Regions from separate parts of the Homo sapiens genome. Here regions 1, 2 and 3 are each linked to region 4. Evidence: promoter capture Hi-C in 16 types of primary human blood cells and fetal thymus (Javierre and others, 2016). All regions are on one chromosome and are shown on one strand. Each heading gives the region's core, a stretch centred on a gene start or on the middle of the fragment in contact. The rest is flanking DNA. Distances are from core to core; before and after follow the strand shown.

What was found. Contacts are between HindIII fragments. The CHiCAGO score rates a contact against its expected background, and 5 or more counts as called.
Region 1: a fragment that was not itself captured here is called in contact with the fragment with the promoter of DPH5 in region 4 in 13 of 17 cell types (activated CD4 T cells, non-activated CD4 T cells, megakaryocytes and 10 more); the score reaches 11.9 in activated CD4 T cells.
Region 2: a contact is called between a fragment that was not itself captured here and the fragment with the promoter of DPH5 in region 4, in 15 of 17 cell types (activated CD4 T cells, non-activated CD4 T cells, total CD8 T cells and 12 more). The highest score is 21.5, in activated CD4 T cells.
Region 3: a fragment that was not itself captured here is called in contact with the fragment with the promoter of DPH5 in region 4 in 15 of 17 cell types (naive B cells, activated CD4 T cells, naive CD4 T cells and 12 more); the score reaches 18.9 in naive B cells.

What each region holds. Positions count from the first base shown.
Region 1 is chr1:101,185,665-101,188,499 of GRCh38, forward strand. No RefSeq gene overlaps it. Among named protein-coding and RNA genes, the nearest start is that of S1PR1-DT, 49 kb to the right of the region's middle. The HindIII fragment of the contact is 2,056 bases long and covers 432-2,487 here.
Region 2 is chr1:101,265,092-101,268,124 of GRCh38, forward strand. No RefSeq gene overlaps it. Among named protein-coding and RNA genes, the nearest start is that of S1PR1, 30 kb to the left of the region's middle. The HindIII fragment of the contact is 7,306 bases long and covers 1-3,033 here.
Region 3 is chr1:101,244,034-101,247,142 of GRCh38, forward strand. No RefSeq gene overlaps it. Among named protein-coding and RNA genes, the nearest start is that of S1PR1, 8.6 kb to the left of the region's middle. RefSeq lists a silencer at 1,366-1,566. The HindIII fragment of the contact is 565 bases long and covers 1,567-2,131 here.
Region 4 is chr1:101,024,182-101,027,096 of GRCh38, forward strand. DPH5 (diphthamide biosynthesis 5) reads right to left here and starts at 1,603. Exons shown (of 8, transcript NM_015958.3): 1 at 1,502-1,603; 2 at 1,128-1,285. The coding sequence starts at 1,262. It overlaps DPH5-DT (DPH5 divergent transcript), which reads left to right and starts at 1,665. Exons shown (of 5, transcript NR_109849.1): 1 at 1,665-1,880. RefSeq lists enhancers at 1,133-2,332, 1,425-1,534. The HindIII fragment of the contact is 3,765 bases long and covers 737-2,915 here.

The sequences.
Region 1 (2,835 bases), core at 210-2,709, 160 kb after region 4:
GCTGGGAATATTATGGCAGCAGGGAGGTTTGTATGGGTTATAGCTCAAGTTTTCTTTTACTTGCCAAATGTTTTGTCTAGTTTTCTTACTTCTGACAGTGTTTTTAAAGATCCTTTTTGTATATTTTAACTTGGATCTGTTAATTTTTCAAATAATTTTTTAAAAATGTAGTTCTTCAGTTCAGTAACCAGACAACCTCATTGATGTTTTACCCCTGAGTGTATGCACCTACCTAAATTTGCAACTATTTGAAAAATATTCTAAGATCCTTTGAAACTCTAGTATGGAAAATAGTAAAATGAACTTTTGGTTTCTAGATAAATATGTATATCATTTGACTTACCTAAACAGTATATGACCAGTACTGATTTTCTTCTAGAGGCTTTAACGCTGATTTTATTTGCGAGCAAAGAAATTAAAAGAAAATTGAAAGCTTAATTCTTCCTGGGATTTCCTCGTATGTTTTCCTCATAGTTTGTAGCTAAGAAACAATAGAGCTTAGCTGCAAGAAATAGAAATAGTAATAGCATAGTATAATTTTTAAATGCCAGTTAAACCAAGGTAATGACATAGGTCATGTCAGTTTTAAAAAAATATATCTCAGAAAGGAATTCTGTCTGATTCTTTCTTTCTCTCCTTTCTCTCTCTCTTCTTTCTAATATGATTTGGCTTGGTGTCCTCACACAAATCTCATCTTGAATTTTAATCCCCAGGTGTTGAGGGGGAGACGTGGTGGGAAGTGATTGGATTATGGGGGTGGTTTCTCCCCCATATGGGGTCTGTTCTCGTGATAGTGAGTAAATTCTCACAAGATCTGATGGTTTCATATATGGTAGTTTTTCCTGTGCTTACACACCATCTCTCTCACCTGCCACCATGTAAGATGTGCCTGCTTCTCCTTCCTTCATGACTGTAAGTTTCCCGAGGTGTCCCCCAGCCACATGGAACTGCAAGTCAATTACACCTCTTTTCTTAATAAACTTCTCAGTATCAAGCAGTTCTTTACAGCAATGTGAGAATGAACTAATACTTTCTTTCTTTCTTTCTTCTTTTCTTTTATCTTTTCTTTCCTTCTTCTTTCTCTTTCTCCCCATCCCTCCCTCCCTCCTCTTTTTCTCCTTACTTCCTTCCTTCCTCCCTTCTTTCCTTCCTTCCTCTCTCTCTCTCTCTCTTTCTTTTTGGAAAAGGTCTTGCTCTGTACCCAGGCTGGAAATGCAGTGGTACAATCATAGCTCACTGCAACCTCAAACTCCTGGGCTCAAGAGATCCTCCCATCTCAGCCCCCCGAGTAGCTGGGACTACAGGCACATGCCACTGCATGCAGCATTTTTTTTTTTTTTTTGTAGAGATAGGCTCTTACTATATTGCCAAGGCTGATCTCCAACTCCTGGCCTCAAGTGATCCTCCTGCCTTGGCCTCACAAAGTGCTGGGATTACATGTATGAGCCACCACACCCAGCTCTATCTGACTCTTTTCTTCATACCACCCCCTGCAAAAGTCCTAAGACAAATTGTTGGCTCTTTTCATTCCACCACACCGTACAGATGGGCTACAGAAGAGCACCAGCACCCTTTCAGGGTTGTCCCCTAAGTCTACATGCCTAGCTCTTTAGTTCTCCCATTGAATTCTTTTTCATTGTATCATATGACATATTATTAATTTGAATAATAAATTAAATTTTTATATTCCTACTGCTAAGTCAGTACTGTGTATATAAACTGAATTTCCCAGCTTTTCTTGGAACATGGTGCTCACTAGAGGAATGGAAATTCAATTTAAAACAATAAATAGGGAAAGCAGAAAGAGTAAACAAAATGTGGAAGGGTGAGGCTTACTCTGAGGAGTGACTAAGCAGGCAGCTTCCTGTGGGCCCTTTAAAAAATGATTTTTTAAAAAATGTTCTTCCCTATTAGTTCTTAGAAAAGCAGATCAACTTGAAAAGATGCTGGTAGTTAGGTAAAACACAGATATATGGGTTTTTTTTTTTTTTAAAAAAAATGCAATAGAGACTATGTTATTCTAATAGTCATAATCTCTAAAACGGTTCATCTATTTTTTTTTTTTTGAGCTGGAGTCTCACTCTGTCCCCCAGGCTGGAGTGCAGTGGCGCAATCTTGGCTCACTGCAACCTCCACCTCCTGGGTTCTAGCAATTCTCTTGTCTCAGCCTCCTGAGTAGCAGGGACTACAGGTGCCCACCACCACTCCTGGCTAATTTTTGTGTTTTTATTAGAGATGAGGTTTCACCATATTGGTCAGGCTGGTAAAATGGGTCATCTTCTGCTACGTTTTAATAAGAAACTGATACTCATTCATATTCATATAGATTCCTAATCTAGAAACTCAATCCATAAACTGGATCCTTTATGAATTGCATAAAATATAAATTAATTTCTTTCATTAAGTGTTATGTAAATTTATAATACAACAACACCTGTTACAATTTTTAAATTTCTAATGGGCTTTAAATACTCAGCACCACTGAGAAGCTTGCTATTGCCTTGTGTCTATCAGTGTTTTCGCTCTAAGTTAAATGTACATTCCACAACAACAAACCACGTTTTGTTTTTTTTTTGGAGATAGGCTGGAGTTCAGTGACACTGAGCATAGTTCACTGCAGCCTCGACTTCAGGGCTCAAGTGATCCTCCTACCTCAGCCTTCCAAGTAGCTGGGACCACAGGTGTGCACCACCACACCCAGCTAATTTATTTTTATTTTTGCTAGAGATGAGGTCTCACTCTGTTGCCCAGACTGGTCTTGAACTCCTGGCCCCAAGTGATCCTTCTGACTCAGCCTCCAAAATTGCTAGGATTACAGGCATGAGCCACCACAGC
Region 2 (3,033 bases), core at 443-2,942, 240 kb after region 4:
CTACCCAAGACTACTATATTTCTTTGAGAAAATAAAAGGCATCAGTTGGGAATTTCTTCATTCTCCACCATCAAATCAACAATCTTGCCTGCATCTCTCCCCATCTTCTTTTGTCATAGTTTTGTGCTTACCAAAGGCTATCCTCTCCAATTCTGTCCTGGGACTGAGTTGTTCTATCAACCAAATATTGTCCCTATTTCTTCTCTTATTTTTTCTCCACCATCATTCGTCTCTTTCCCCAACTACAAACACACTCTAATAGATACCAAATTAAGAAGCAAGCATAAATAAACAAAAAGACCTAGAATCCTCTGTAAACCCTTATTTCCCTTCAGCTACCACCTCCCCCCATTTTTATGTTCCCTTGTACAGTAAAACTAAAAAAGTTGTATAAATATGTATGCTGTCTTCACTGCCTGAACTCCATTTCATCCTTCAACACACTGTAATCTGGCTTCTGTGTATTGCATTTGCTAAAATAATTTTTGCTCAAAATTACCAGTGGACTTCATATTGACAAAACAATGGACATGTTTTTTGTCTTTTATTTGTTAGCCCTTCAGTATTATTCCACTTGGTAGATAATTCTATCTTTTCTGACTTCAGTTACACTTTGTTCTCCTGGATTTTCTCCTAGCATGCTGATTGCTCTTTCTCCATCTCTTTTTGCCAGCTGTCCTCTAACTGACTTCTACTGGTTTGGTTTGATTTAGGGCTAGGTTCTGGATGCTCTTCTCTTTACTCTCCATATTTTCTCCCTAATGATCTCATCCGTATTCATGGCATGAGTTAGTGTCTATATGCTGCTGATTCCTGTTATGGAGATTGTGGTACACCACCCAGAGACTCCCTCTAAGACTAAGGCATTCATTTTCCCAACTGTTGAGAGTATTGACTGTTGGCAGCTCACAAGGATTCCCTCCTTGAGCATTGTCCTCGGTTTAAGATTATATATCCCTTTTTCTTTTTCTACTTCTCTCTTTCTTTCCTTTTTTTTTTTTTTTTAAACAGGGTCTCACTCTTTTTTAGACAGGGTCACCCAGGCTGGAGTGCAGCGGTGCCATCTCAGCTCTGTGCAAACTCTGCCTCCAGGGTTCGACTGATTCTGGTGCCTCAGCCTTTTGAGTAGCTGGGACTACAGGCATGTGTCACCATGCCCAGATTATTTTTGTATTTTTAGTAGAGATGGGGTTTCACCATGTTGGCCAGGCTGGTCTCGAACTCCTGGCCTTAAATGATCTCTGCTCTCTTCAGCCTCCTGATGTTCTGGGATTACAGGCATGAGCCACGGCAACCGGCTTTATATCCCTTTTTGATGGGCAGCCTGCATTCAATGCTGGTTGAAGCAAGAGTACAAACTCTGGTACAAAGAGTACAAGAGTTCAGGACAACTCTGAAGGGTCATGCCAGTTCCAGAGCTCCCTGGATTTGCTGAGGACTCTGTTACAACTGCATCACACTTCAACTTCTCCCTCCGCCCAATCATGCTTTTTTACTCTCTTACAGACATTGTTTCTAAGGACATTCCTGTAGTAGATACTGTGATCCATTGCCCAAATGTCCCTTCAGGAACAAGGAGTTAATAGCTATGGTGCTGGGAATCTTGGGCAAACATATTCAGAGATAAGGCCTCTTCAGGGCAGCTAACACCTAATGACTGATCCAGTAGGGGTACAAAGGCACCACTCTCTCACCTCAACTTGGGATAGCACTGAAGGATCATCTTAATTCAGAAGTCCCTGCCCCAAAAAAAGGACACATTGTCTAATTTGATTCATCTCCAGAGACACAGTGTCATCATGGTCCTCCTTCTGCCCCCGTGAGATTGGAGTTTGATGAGGCCAGGTAACAAATAAATGCCTGTGTAAATTCTAGCTACGGTGGGTCCATAGACACCCCCAGTGATCCTTTCTCAAATCTCTAAGTGCATAACTAGGATTGACATACTGGCAGTCAGAGGAACCCCACTTTGTATCATTGACCTGTGGGGAAGGCCATATCATAGTGGAGAAGGCCAAGTGGAAACCTCTTGAAACCGTCCATACACCCCTTCCCCCAGCCAAGGCAGCAAATGGAGAAAAATTGCACCCTGGAGTAGAGGAATAGCAGAGATTAATGCTACTATTAAAGATCTAAAAATGCAGGGATGGTGGTCACTACTCACTCTCATATCCTCATTTAGCAGCACCAGTCTGGATCCTGCAGAAACTGGGTGATTCTGGAGAATAACAGCAGAAAACCACAGCTCAAACAAGTGATAGCCCCAGTTGTAGCTACTGTGCTGGATGTGGTTTTATTGCTAGATAAATGAGATAAAATAGGTTAATGAGATTTCAGGTACGTGGTGTGTGGTCATTGATTTGGGAAATGGATTCTTTTCTATTCCAATTAGAAAGAAGATTAGAGATAATTTGCATTCATGTGATGTGAGTAATATTCAACTGCAGCTTTGATCCAGGGCTATGCTGACCCTCTTCCTTTTACCACAATATAATCTGAAGATATTTGGATCTTCTTGAAATTTCGCTACAAGTCATATTGATTCATTCCATCAATGACATTATGCCGACTGGATAATACTCTAGAAGACTTCATAAGACACTTGCAAGATAAACACTATGAAGATTTATTGACCTCTCACTTTGATGTAGTTTGTATGGATCTAGTAGTCTGGGGAACATTGGACTATCCCCTTCAAATTAAGAGGCACATCTTGCATCCCTTATCACAAAGAAGGAAGCTCAGTGTGTGACAGGCATCTTTCATTTGTGGGTGTATAAGATAACACACTATACACCTAGAAGTACCACTAGCTTTGAGTGAGGCCCAGAGCAGGAAAAAGCTGTCCACTAAAGCAAGGCTGTGGTGCAAGCAGTTCTGTCATTCGGGCCCATGACTGACCCCAAATTTGCTGGAAATGTCAGAGGTGGGACTTACCAAATCACAAATTAGAGCAGGCCCAGCTGCTGTTCATCATAATAGTTTTTCCGAGGTTAAGCCCAAGTATGACCAGAGGGCATGAGTATACAGTAC
Region 3 (3,109 bases), core at 599-3,098, 220 kb after region 4:
AGAACCAGGACCCAGAGTAGTTTGGGTTCATGTTGAATATATCTCTCCTAATACATCCGATCTCTTGTTCCCTACACTTTCTTCTTGGATTCAGACTCTCAAGTAATTTCTGTTTTTCCCGTGCTCTCTTTTTTATCCCTTTGAGGACTAAAGGATTAAAAAATTAGACTTAGCTCTGGTTATAGTCATTAGCAAGAGCCAAGTGTGGACTGTGGACTTGAGTGAACAGGAATTGCTACATTTTATGTAATCCAACCTTGATATATGAAGTATCTTCATATATCCAACCAGAAGCTTCCATATCAGTAATGGATAAATACACCATGGTAAATTAATACAATGGAATATTATTCAGCAACAAAAAAGGACCTACTACTAATCTTGCAACCGTTTTCATGAATTTTAAACCTCTTATGCAACCACAAAAGAGAACATACGTCATGATTTCCTTTATGTAAAAGTTCCAGAATAGGCAAAACTAATATATGGAGGTATAAATCTGCACAGTGGTTGCCTGGGGTAAGAGGATAAACTGGAAAGGAACACGAGGGAACTTTCTAGGTTGTTAGCAAAGCTCTTTATCTTAATTTTTAGGACCTTGTTCACTCAGATGTGTATATTTGTCTAAACTTATGTAATCATATTCTTAAGACCAGTGAAATTTAAAAATATCAATATGCTAGACTTTCACTTCTGAGTATAAGGACTATATGAGACTTTCTCTGTGAAATTGTGGGAAGGTTCCATGAAGTTCAGTAGAAAGTGGCAGCCGTGCACAGTGGCTCACGCCTGTAGTCCCAGCACTTTGGGAGGCCGAAGCAGGAGGATAGCTTTGAGCTCAGGAGTTCAAGATCAGCCTGGGCAACATGGCAACACCCGTTTCTACAAAAAATACAAAAAAAATTAGCTGAGCATGATGGCTCACACCTGTAGCCCCAGCTATTTGGATGGCTAAGTCTGGAGAATCACTTGAGTCCAGGAAGTGGAGGTTGCAGTGAGCCGAGATCCGGCCACTGCATTCCAACTCCAGCCTGGGTGACAGAGTGAGATCCTGTCTCAAAAAAAAAAAAAAAAAAAAAAAAAAGAATGTGGAAAAGGTTCCAAAGTGTTTCATAAAAGGGAAATACGCTTTTTAAGTATTATCCCATGACCCAGAAATAAAACTTTAGAATGCTAAATAATTGTGACATGATGATACTCTTTGCTTCCATAGGATGAGAATTTGGCTTAGTATTGGTATTTGTAATCCCTGAAGAATTTCTGTGTCTTGAAAGAGTCTAGAGATGTAATGAAACTGTCACAATAAAAGTTTATTGACATTTGGATTTCAGTTTTAGGAATATATGATGGGTTGTAAATAGCCTTATGAAGAATGGACCTTGTATACATTGCAAGGATATGTAAACATATTAGTACTGGAGACATACAAATTGGAGTGTGCCAATTTCTTATCATGGCCACCTGACCAAACCTATAAAAGGCATTCATTCAGATAATAACACTCGCCCTGGGTGTAAGCACTGCATTGTTAGAAGAGATAGCAGAGCACAAAGGATATGGAAGACAAGCTTATGTTCCTGTGGATCTATTTTTTAATAATTTCAGCTTTTATATTAGATTCAAGGGGAACATGTGCAGGTTTGTTACATAGGCATATTGCTGTGATGTTGAGGTTTGGGGTGTGAATGATCCCATCACTGTGGTAGTGAGCATAGTACCCAACAACTAGTTTATTAGCCATTGTCCCCCTCCCTCTCTCTCCCTTCTAGTAGACACCGGTGTCTATTGTTCCCTTATTTATTTATTTTGGAGGGTCTCACTCTGTTGCCCATGCTGGAGGGGAGTGGTGTGACCATAGCTCACTGCAACCTGGAACTTCTAGGCTCAAGCAATCCTCCCGTCTCAGCTTCCAGAGTAGCTGGGACTATAGGTGTGTGCCACCACACCTGGCTAATTATTTATTTTTGTAGAGACAGGGTCTCACTTTATTGCCTAGGCTGTTGCCACACTCCTTACCTCAAGCAATCTTTCCACCTTGGTTTTCCAAAGTGCTAGAATTACAGGCGTGAGCCATCATGACCAGCCTGTTTCCATCTCTATGTCCACGTGTACCCATCCTGTGAGTTTTATAAGCTTGCAGCCAGACACATTGTTACCTGCATTCCCCTGTCTGAGGGGTCTTTCTTTCAGCCATCTCTGGGAGTAACTGGACAGAGAAGAAATGCCTCAGGTGCTGCACTGCTCCTTGGACAGACTGATTAGATACAAAGCAGAAATAGAAACAGGGAAGAGGGGGCATGGTTACCTCAGCTAACAAGGAGCAGGGAGACGTAGGAAATTGTTTATCCATTTCCCCAGAGCTCTACTACTATTATTACTCCACTTTTCTGCTGCTTTGTTGATACCAGGGCAGAAAGAAAAACCTTGGAAAAAGTTACTGGTGTGGGTCATGCTTCCTACTCCCATTCCTCTTGATAGGTCGGCAAACTTACCCACTCATCCACTCAACAAGAATGCTTGCCCTGTGCTCTGTGCTGTGGATCTAGGGGCAAATATAAACAGAGGTTCTGCCTTCCTAGAGCTCACAGGATTCATTCCTTCAGCTCTGGCACTCCTGTGGCTCCCTCTCTTTGGGGTCCAGGGACCTTGATATGGCAAGACAAAATTCTTTCTTTTTTTTCCTTTTTTGAGACGGAGTCTCACTCTGTCGCTCAGGCTGGAGTGCAGTGATGCGATCTCGGCTCACTGCAACTTCTGCCTCTCAGGTTCAAGCGATTTTCCTGCCTCAGCCTCATGAGTAGCTGAGATTACAGGCGTGTGCCACTACGCCAGGCTAATTTTTCTGTTTTTAGTAGAGACGGGGTTTCACCACGTTGGCCAGGCTGGTCTCGAACTCCTGGGCTCAAGCGACCCACCTGCCTCGGCCTCTCAAAGTGCTGGGATTATAGACGTGCATCACGGCACCCAGCCAAGAAACAGTTCTTTTTTTCCCATGAGTTTGTTCATTGTTGTACACTTCCTCTAATATATTGAGTTCTTTAGCAGTCTAAAATAATTTCATTTAACAAATACAATTAATATTGGCAGCTTTTCATCATTGGCTTTTATT
Region 4 (2,915 bases), core at 353-2,852:
GCAGATCACTAGAGTCCAGGAACTTGTGACCAGCCTGGGCAATGTGGCAAAACCCTGTCTCTACAAAAAATACAAAAAATTAGCTGGGCATGATGGCACCCACCTGTAGTCTCAGCTACTCGAGAGGTTGAGGTGGGAGGATACTTGAGCCCAGGAGGCTGAGGCTGCAGTGAGCCATGATCATACCATTGCACCCCAGCCTGGGCAACAGAGCAAGACTTATTTTCTCTCTCTCTCCACATATATGTATATATCAAAGTTGGTCTTTACACACAACTTTTATTTAAATGCATGGCCAATTCAAGTAGCAGTTCTTAATTCCTTCTATAAGATTTTAAAGTAATCTGAGGCCTAAAAATTTTAAGTCTATTTTTTGTTTGGAAGACATGACAATAAATCTGCTCCCTCCTCCCATAACATATGTATTAATCCTTTGATTTACATTCTACTTAGAGTTTGACAATGAACCTGAAGTTGACCCTTCCCCCAAATTTACTGGGCCCTTATGAGGGCCAACTATAAATGTATAATATACTAACAAATACTTTGGTTACTTAGTGTATACTCATGTAAGTGTATACTCATACATTTTTATATATTAAGTCCAGGCTCACTCAATATATACAAGTGTATCAGTATAAGCCTTATTGGGAGATAGTCTATTTAAGATAAGATCTCTCTGGATAGGATACAAAAAGGCAATCGCCATTCCCTATGGACACACTTCAAAGGGGGAAGCTTTCAGCTTGGTTTTTGAATATATATAACCAACTCATTAAGGCTGTGTCAGCTCCTCATTAGCACTCAACTCAGAAAGGGTTTCTTGACTACCTCATGAAATAAGGGGTTTTGATAACTATCCCCCAGGAGTATAAAATAGCTTTCCTATTTACTGGAGAAAGCCACAAAATTAGACTTGTAAAATAGGACAAAGCACCCTTTCATTTTCCAAGTCACTTGGTTGGTGTAAAATTTCCATTCTTCTGCTCCTCAGATCATTAATGAACAAGGGATGCGTTTCAAAGGGTTTAAACAAGCAGACCTGAAAATTCTGTTCAGCTTAGTGTATGAAAATCAGATGTTAGATAGCTTTCTTCCCAGGAGGCTGGGGAACGCTCAGCACCTACCAAGGCTTCCTTCCCTACAGTTAGGACTGAGGTGTAGGCTTCCAGATACACTCGACTGCAGCGTCTAACAACTTCCAGGCCCTTGACTGTGATGTCCTTGGCATCTCCCAGGCCCAACCCGATGAGATAAAGCATTTCAAACTTGAGGAGAAGAGAGACTGCAAGACGAAGTGGACAGAAAAACCGTCAGTAACACCGAGGACATCTAAAATCTAGTGATGAACACGATGACAACCAAAGTAGCACAAGAGAAGAGGCAAGTCACAAGGAGGGGTTTGGGAACCTTATGTCACGCTTAAGAACTGGGATAAGAGGTTTTAAACAACCCTACCAGTTTTGCCTCTTGTTACACAAACCTAGGAGCAGCCAATTACCCGCTGAGAGAATCGTAGGTAGTTCTCTGGCCTTTACAAATTCTTAACTACCACCTTTCCGCAGAAGCAACTGCAAAAGCGCCGGCTCCGTGCAGAGAAAAGGCCCACGCCGCCGGCCTCACCTACGGTGCCGCAAAATGCTGGTGCCTTTACTGCACTTTACGACTAGCGGGAGGGGGCCGGGCTAGCGGGCTACTGGGCTGCGGAGACCAGAGCCCGGCTCCACTGAAGAAACCCGCCGGCTGCTGGGGCAGGGCGGCGAAAGGTCAGTCGGCCGAGAGGAGTCCGTGGAGCCACCGTTTCATAGCCTCAGGGAAAGGATCGGGCGTGCTCACGAGCCCTCTAACCCATGGCTTAAACACCCGCTTCCTAAGCCTGGGTAAGTGCAGTAGCTCTTCGCTCGAGAGGAGCCACGTGGAAGAGAGTCGGGAGGGGCCCTGCGCCCTACTCCTCCTCTCCAGAAACAGGGAGGGCTGGGAAGGATTTTCCTGATTTGTCCCCGGATTTGGCCGAGTGCACAGATTTTAATTCCAGTCTTCTCATCCTCCTGTAGTTCAACTAGGTGTCTTCCTGGTGAAGCGTGAGATTGGCAAACCCAGCAGTGAGTGTGCTTCTGATTTCCCAACAAGGCAATGACTCCTTGGGTTTGTCCCCAAGACCTTATGCCTGGAGTGCCCCAAGGATGTTTCAGTCACCCTCAGTGTCAGGAATCCCAGACCTTCCTGTACCTAAAGAAGTGACCTTTAATAGTGCTCAGGGATTTCAGACCTCTCAAGTGTTTCTGCCGGGGGAATTCTTATAAAGCTGTTGGTTACATGTAATTAGAAATAGGGAAGATTTGTTTTGACTGAAAATGCTCTTCCCAAGGTGACCTCATCCAAGTTAAAAAAGACAGCTGTCATTGCTTTTCTTAGCAGGCAGTGTTGGTTACTCAGAATTTTCCTGTTGCCTCCCCGACAATGCCCAACTCCGCTTCCTTGAACCTTGGCTTTTTTTCATTCCCAGGTTCCATCCACCTTTTTGCACTTCCTATCTATAAACTCTTCGTGGCTGTGTTTTATCCCCTCTCATTACGTTGATCTATTCCTCACACCACATACACACCCCAAAAAACTCAAAATGGATCGTAGATGTAAATGGAAAACCTAAACCTATACCAGAAGAAAACATAGGAGGAAATATTCGTGACCTTATTTAGGCAAATATTTCTTAAACCAAAAGCGTGATGAAAAAAATTGATAAATTGGACTTCAACAAAGTAAAAATTTATGCTCTTCAAAAGACTTGAAGCCACATACTGAAAATATTTACAAAGCATGTATCTGATGAAGGACTTGTATGGAGAATATATAAGGAGCACTCAGAAAGCAATAATAAAACAGTTCGTTGTTTAAAAATGGGCAAAAGATTTGAA